Regions from separate parts of the Homo sapiens genome. Here region 2 is linked to region 1. Evidence: promoter capture Hi-C in 16 types of primary human blood cells and fetal thymus (Javierre and others, 2016). All regions are on one chromosome and are shown on one strand. The core of a region is centred on a gene start or on the middle of the fragment in contact, and the rest is flanking DNA. Distances in the headings are between cores, read along the strand shown. Region 1 holds the start of DHRS3 (dehydrogenase/reductase 3). Region 2 overlaps TNFRSF8 (TNF receptor superfamily member 8).

The links. The method cuts DNA at HindIII sites, captures the fragments that hold promoters and counts their contacts. A CHiCAGO score of 5 or more calls a contact.
Region 2: a contact is called between a fragment that was not itself captured here and the fragment with the promoter of DHRS3 in region 1, in 1 of 17 cell types (neutrophils). The highest score is 5.2, in neutrophils.

The regions. Positions count from the first base shown.
Region 1 is chr1:12,616,275-12,620,221 of GRCh38, reverse strand. DHRS3 (dehydrogenase/reductase 3) reads left to right here and starts at 2,012. Exons shown (of 6, transcript NM_004753.7): 1 at 2,012-3,068. The coding sequence starts at 2,874. RefSeq lists a silencer at 5-256 and enhancers at 492-1,123, 1,124-1,755, 1,756-2,387. The HindIII fragment of the contact is 18,116 bases long and covers 1-3,947 here.
Region 2 is chr1:12,095,825-12,099,667 of GRCh38, reverse strand. TNFRSF8 (TNF receptor superfamily member 8) reads right to left here. Exons shown (of 15, transcript NM_001243.5): 3 at 2,451-2,567. Among named protein-coding and RNA genes, the nearest start is that of TNFRSF8, 34 kb to the right of the region's middle. The HindIII fragment of the contact is 1,350 bases long and covers 1,769-3,118 here.

The DNA.
Region 1 (3,947 bases), core at 763-3,262:
TTCCCCAGCCATAAAAGTGTGTTTGGGGTGGGGGAGGAGGACTATGATCTTCACAAGCCCTTTTAGACTTGGGGTGTTAACCTTACATGAGAGAAATGCCTGGAAGAAAAGCATGGCTAGTTAGCAGGAACGCCGCTGGGTTGGAGGCCGGGCAGCTCGGAGGCGCAGTATCCTATCTGGGCCACCAGGCGGCTCCGAGGACAACAGATGAGCAAAGCCCGCTTTTGCAGCCTGGTTCTGTCTTCAGATCTTTCCAGGCTTCTTCGCAGGCCTGGCGGACACCAGCCGCTGCTGGGTGGGAAAGGCCTGTCACTCCCAGGCTGGAATCGCTTTCCCATTTTTACAGACCTCGAAGATGAGAGGAGGCCGTCACCACAATGGATTCCGGCCCTGGGGTCTGATGGAGACATTGGTCCGCCCTTCGGTCAGACTCTTGGGGGCGTTAGGGGGGTGGGGGGGTCTCTGCTCTGCAACCCTTAGCTGAACCCCATCCTCCACTTCTCTCCTCCCGTCTGGTCAGAGTGGGAAGAGGTTTGGATTGGGATCCCCCCTCCTGCACTTCCTGGCTGGGTAACCTGGACGATGGGATAACAGTCCCCCGATTGCAAGGTCAGGGGAAGGACTGTGTCAGAATATAGGCCCTCAGTGCAGGACAGTTGCTCATCCTAAGCCTCTCCTGCCTTTTGCTCTTCCAGTGGCTTTTCACCCAGAAGGAAGATCCTCCCCTGCAGAACCTCTCCCCAGAACTAGGTCTTTGCAGGTGACGAGGTAATCCCAGCCTCCCCTCCCCGCAGATCAGCGTTTTTCGAAGTGACTTTCTCACCAGGCGGAGCATTGAAAGTACCGATCCCAGCGCACCCAGCCCTGCTGAATCAGAATCTCTGGGGGTGAGGCCCAGGAATCGCCGTCTGAACAAGTCGCGGGCTGGAAACGGCTGCCCCAGATTACAGGGCAGCTCCCTGCTTCGCTCTCGCTCCTCCGGCCCCGGGAACGTGCAGGGGGGCGGGAGGCAAGTCCCATCAGCACTTTGAACTGGGGCTGCTTTTTAGTGACTCACCTCCCAGACTTCCTGCAACAGACAACTCTAAATAGCTCGGTCCCACCCTCCAGCAGGGGAGACATTCCGGTCGGGAAGGGCAGGAGGTTAGAAGGTGGGTGCCCCGCCAGGGCAGTCCAGGGAGACCCAAGGACAGGAGACGCTGGCTGCACAGCACAGGGGCGCACGAATAGGACGTTTTGTTTACAGGCTTTTGTTATTAAGGAAATTGGTGTCAGTCAAGGTAATTCTAGCTCAGATGAGCAATAAATATGCTCCCAGCTAATCTTGTGGGGATTTTATTGGCACTCGGAGCAGAGGTTCCTTTACCTTGACTACTCCCTCCCCTCAAAGCAAAGTCCTGCTCCCCAGCGGCTTCCCCCTAAGCATCGTGAGGCACTTGGGTCAGGCTTTTAAAAGTCCACTCTACGTGAACACAGAAGAGGTCCGGGCAAAGGTGAGGAGTGGCTTCCTGATCCTACCTGGAGGCCGAGGATGACCAAATGACCTGAAATAAAACCCTGGGTGACCTGGTTGGATCAAGGCATACGCAAGCTCCCCCGGGCCTGCTCCACACTCGGGGTGATCACCTGGCCCGCGGGCGGCCCGGGCAAGGAGGAACGTCTCGAGAAGGCAGCCGGCTCGCCGGAGTCGGTTCCAGCGTGTTCGAGTTACAGCTGCGAGCCCTCAGGGACACCGGCGGCAAGTCCCGGCTTGCAGAGAGGGGAGCCAGTCCCGGGAGAGCGCGAGTCCCGGCGAGCCCGAGTGCGCGCCTTATGCGCGCTCCCCGCGACGGCGCAGGGGGAGGGGAGGCCGCAGCAGCCACTCAGAGGAACGGTAGTGAAGCCTCCCAACAACTTTAACTGTCAATCAGACTTAATGGGGTATTGAAAAAATGGGGGAAAAAGGGGCCGCCCTCTCCGCGACGCGGCTGCCCGGGGAGCGAATGAATAGGGCCGCGCAGACCAAGGCGTCCGATCCACGCGCGCTCCACACCCGGACCCTCTCCAAGTTGGAAAGGACAAAAAGAAGGCAATAAATGCTAAAAAGGGAGAGAAGGGGAGCTGGATCGAGCGGCAACTCCCAGCCTCTGCTGGAACAGAGAGGGAGGGAGGGAGCCGGAGCGAGCGAGCGCGCGCGAGGGCGAGCGCTGCACGTAAAGAAACTGACACCCGGACCCCCCACTTCTCCTGCACGTTGCTGGCAATCAGATCGCGTTTAAGCAATTTCCTGAGCCCAAGAATAGCAATGAGTCGGGAGACTTTCGCGGGCTGAAATTGGGAGCTCCAAGCACTTTTTCCCCCCACTTTTTTTTTTTTTTTTTTTCTGGAGACGGGGTGGGGGTGGGGGCGCTACAATTTGGAATCAGCTTTTTTTTTTTTTTTTTTTTTTTTTTTAATCTTGCACTTTGAAACCGCGGGACCGAGGCAGGGTGCGCGCGTGTGGTTGGTGCCTTTTTTTTTTTTTCTTCCCCTCCCTAAACTCCTCTGTCAGTCTGTAAACATTACCTGAGAATTCCCCAGCCGAAACGGCTGCTGGGGCAAGAAACTTCTTGTTAGAACTTTCCACCTCCGGCTTCCCCCTCCACCTCTTTTACCGTCCCAACCTTAGGAGACGCTTTTTCTCCCCCAGAGGAGAATTTATCTTTTTTTTTTTTTTTTTTTTCTTTTTCTCACCCGGTGCTTTGCATTTGGGAAGAGGTGATTTCAAGAGTGGCCAGGTGGGACGCCTCTCTCCTCCTTATTCGGTTTACTATTTATTGTTCGGGGTGTTTTTTAATTCCTGTATTGCTCGGCCCGGGGAGTTTCGCCCCCTGCCCGGCTCCGCGGCGCGGAGGATGGTGTGGAAACGGCTGGGCGCGCTGGTGATGTTCCCTCTACAGATGATCTATCTGGTGGTGAAAGCAGCCGTCGGACTGGTGCTGCCCGCCAAGCTGCGGGACCTGTCGCGGGAGAACGTCCTCATCACCGGCGGCGGGAGAGGCATCGGGCGTCAGCTCGCCCGCGAGTTCGCGGAGCGCGGCGCCAGAAAGGTACCAGGCACTGCGACTCCAGGGAGTGGGGGGCCGCAGGGGCGGGGGTAAGCCCACCTGCTGCCGCTGCGGGATCCCGCGCCCGGGAGCTGAGAGTCGCCGGCCACCCCACTTCTCCGCGCCACCCACGAGTGCTGAGCTAGTCGGTTTCACCTTGTAAATTTCCCGGGCACCGGACTGTCTTTTTTGGCAGGTTCAGAGTTGATCCGCTCCTTTGGGATCGGTGGCTGGCTGACTGGCTATTCACCCCCACCCTGAAACCTAAGAGACCCACCATTTCCCACATTCCTGCCTCCCAAAGGAAGGTGTTGTGCCCCCCTCCCCCGCCTTCCCCCCTTTTTCTTGCCGCCACCCTGGTGAGTGCAGGGTGTGCGCACTCCTGGGTAGAGCTGGGAGCCGCCTGCTAGCTGGCGCCTCGTATTTTCCTTGGCAACCCGCTACCCAGCCCCAACCTGGGCGGCTGCAGCTCTGAAGACACGAGAGAGGGTACTTGGTTTGGGTTTGAAAAGGGAAGAGCGGTCTTGTATGCAGTAGTCTGGCCGGACCGACACTGAGAGGCCCAGGTGTTTGGAAAGCAGGAAAGAGGAGGCCAGGGTAAGCAGCTACTGATAAAGAGCCCTTGTTCTCACCTTCAACCCTGTCCCCTCCCCCCCAGTACACCCCCCAGGGATCCCTCCCCATTTAGCTGGAAGGTGGTGCTGCAAGGAGGGTCCTGCCCACCAAACACGGCCTTTAACTTTTTGGTGGTCCTGGCACCCCTTGCTCCAGGTTTTGGAGACCTGGTGCCAGAGTGGGGAGAGTGGGCAGGCTGTCACCCAACTCCCAGCCCAGGCCAGGCTGACTCACGCGGTGACCAGAGCCATCAGGAGAGGGAGGCAG
Region 2 (3,843 bases), core at 1,194-3,693, 520 kb after region 1:
ATGACACGTTTGTCAGAATGTATTCCTGTCAATAAGCAATACATGACTATAATTTATATCCTCAGAGACACACAAAAAAATTGTAAGTTGGGTGCAGTAACATGCAAGTGCAGCCCCAGCTACTCGGGAGGCTGAGGCAGGAGGAACACTTAAGCCCTGGAGTTTAAGGCCAGCCTGGACAACAAAGTGAGACCCTGTCTTAAAATTTAAAGATAAGAAATTGGGCCGGGAATGGTGACTCACACCTGTAATCCCAACACTTTAGGAGGCCAAGGCGGCTGGATCACTTGAGGTCAGGAGTTTGAGACCAGCCTGGGCAACATGATGAAACCCCATCTCTTCTAAAAATACAAAAATTAGCCAGGCGTGGTGGTGCATCCCTGTAATCTCAGCTACTCAGGAGGCAGGAGAATCGCTCGAATCCAGGAGGTAGAGGTTGTAGTGAGCCGAGATTGCACCACTGCACTCCAGCCTGGGCGACAGAGTCAGACTCTGTCTCAAAAAGAAAAAAAAGAAAACAAAAATATAGGCAACAGACAAGCATCCTCAAACATGAAATAACAGAGAATATTGCAAAGACGAGCCCTTCTTGAAAAATCCACCTGACAGTGTAATCCAATCACTCAAATGATGAATCAAAGTGAAAAACTCAGGAACAGAGAAGCTGTGCCAAATAAACTCATCATGAATAATAAAAAATGTTAAGGCTAACATGCCAAGGGACTTATGGTTGCAGATGAGAATATAAACATTATAGATTATGACAAAGTAAAATTTGTGTAAGGAATAAAAGTCAGGAAGAGGATGAGGAGGTGGGAAAAATAATTACTTTGTTCTTCATTACAGGGAGTCAATCTATTCTCTACTGTCCAAAACTCAAACTAAGCAGATTTTGCCTTTACTGCAAGAGATAGTAGATTCTGAAATGATTATTAACCACTTACTGATTTTCATAACCTCCTTTCTTAATTTTAGAGGGTTTTTTTTTTTAAAGGAATTGCAGTATCTTTTGCTGAAGATACATTAATCTGACTGAGGTTTGGCATTCTTCTGTTTCACTTCGCTTTCTTTTTCTGATACTTTTGACTAAAATTAAATATTATCATTTTAATGCCATAAATATGTTGCCATTCTCTTAAAATTCCTTCTTTGTAAGTGTGTACAGGCTGTCTGGTTACTAACCTACCCATCTTTATACAGAGAGGTAGAGGCGTGTCAGCCATCTAATGATAATAGTAGTTATCTATAGATGGAGGGCTGGGGAGGGCAATGTTTGTTTTCTTCCTTACACTCTTTGTATTGCTTGAATTTTAAATAATAAATGTTTATAATTTTCATTTCATAAAATGCAGTCATTACTTTTAGAAATTCAAAGATACACCAGATAAATGCTAATAAAAAGAAAGAAGAAATGGCAATATTATTATTACTTTTCTTTCTTTTTAACCTTTGCTACTTCTTCCAGGAAGGAATAGCAATATTAATGCCAAACAAATGTGAAATTAAGGGAAAAGGCATTACAAGGAATGGAGAGGTATATTCATGTGGATAAAAAGCCCAACCCACCAAAAAAACATAACATTCATGAACATTTATGTACCTAATAACATAGCTTTGACATATATGAAGCAAAAATAGAAAGAACACAATGAAAATCTAATAGATGAACAAGTATACTGGGAGATAAGATTTTAACACATCTCTCAGAAATAAAGGTGATAAAAGTAAATAAGGGTACACATTATTTAAATAACACAATTAACAAGCTTAACTTAATAGATATGTAGAGAACTTTATACGCAACAAACAGAATACACATTTTAAAACACCCATACACTGAACACTCTGAAAATACATGATCATTTATTATTTATTAGACCACAAAAAGATCTCAACAAATTTCCCCCACCCTACCCCCCAAAAAAATCCACACAAAAATAAACACTAGATAGCACACAGACTGCATTCTCTAACCATAATAAGAGACTAACAATAAAAGGTCATACTGAAACAGTTTTCCTGGAAGTCCTGTGATCTTAGGAAAAGAACACAGCTCTTGGTGTCAGGCCACAACTCAAACTCCAGTTCTGCCACTTACCAGAGTTTTGTAACTTTGGAAAGGCCCTTAACCTCCCTATCCTCAAATTCCTCATTGTAAAGTAAGGATAAGCAAGAAATCCTCCCCTAGGGCTGTGGTGAGGATTAAACTCAAAAAAATGTGAGTCCTCTCCTTCAGGAAACATGTTAAGTCTCTGTGAAAGTATGGATGCAAAAGGTCATGGCTGATATCAAATCACAAATGCAGAGAGGTAAACTGAGGCACCAGGAGGACAATTCAGAGAACAGACATCAAATCATGATGCTCTCCACCTTCCAGATTCTTCACCTCTCCTCTGAGGACCCCTCATGCTCCCTAGAAGGAGGCCCTGGAGAGAGAACAAGGCCCTTACCTCGAGAACAAGTCACGCAGGCTGTACAGCGGTCGGCCTCATCCAGGTAGTAGTCAGGCTCACACTGCTTCCTGCAGTCAGTAGGCCTCTGTGGGCACTGCTGTGTCGGGAACAGCCCTGGGAAAAGAAACAGAGAAGCTCCAAGCCAGGCTGACTTAGCAAAGGCCTTATGACCCAATGCCCCACACCTCTCATCCCTGACGCCCCTCCCAGCTCCACCTCCAACCCCCGAAAACTGTCAGTCCAATTCTTGTGTTATGGATGGAAGCACTGACACCCAGGAGGGGCAACCCTCGCCTAAGGTCCCCTAGCAGGCAAGGAAAAGCAACATAGTTATAGAGAAGAGCTGGGCCTGGGATTCTAGGGCTGCCATTTGCCAATTGCGTGATAATGACCTTGTCAGCACTATTTGTGTGTGTGTGTGTGTGAGGGTACATAGTACGTGTATATATTTAGCACTATTAAGTTAGTAATAGGACCCACCTCCTAGTGTTCTTGAAAGGACTGAATGGACTGTGAAGATAAATATGTATAAAGTACTACAGCAGTCCCTGGCACCCAACAAGCACTATATGAGCACCGGTTGTCATCATTCTCTGCAGGGGTCTTATCTCACTGCAGGAATTAGGAGAGCCATAACTTTAGACCATGAAAGTCTAGACCAAGCTTGTCCAACCCACGACTAGCCGCATTCGGCCCAGGACAGCTCTGAATGAGGCCCAACGCAAACTCATAAACTTTCTTAAAACATTATGAGATTTGCGTGTGTGTGATTTTTTTTTTTTTTTTTTTTAGCTCATCAGCTATAAGCTAAAACACTATCCTTAGTGTTAGACTAAATTCACTTCTTCCACACTAACACTTCTTCTTCCAATGTGGCCCAGGGAAGCCGAAAGATTGGACACTCCTGCCACTAAGACCCTAATCCAGCCTGATTTCGAGATAAACAAGTCACCCAGCAATCGCTGCCTACCTTGCTTCCAGGATGAGCACATGACCCAAGCAGGCCAATCAGAATACTTCTTCCCATCAATATAATTGGCTCAGGATTGCCACATGACCCAAGCAGGCCAATCAGAGTACTCCATGTTCCTCACCACTGTGATTAGTTTAGTATGGGCACATGACCCAGGCATGCCAGCCAATAAGCCTCATCTCTGAGAGTTTCACAAAAGCAATCCAGAAAGATGTCCTCCGTTTATCTACTGGATTCCTGGCTGAAAGGGCTAGTTAAGCCCAGAGCTGCCCAGGTCATCACAGCCTGAGCGTGGGCATGGTGTGGGCAGGACTTGCCTAAGAAGGAGGTGACTCAGAAGCCAGCAGAAGCCAGAGTTGGAGAGAAATGGGCTCCTGAGGACATCGTTCAAACATCTGAATGTAGGGTGTCCATGGA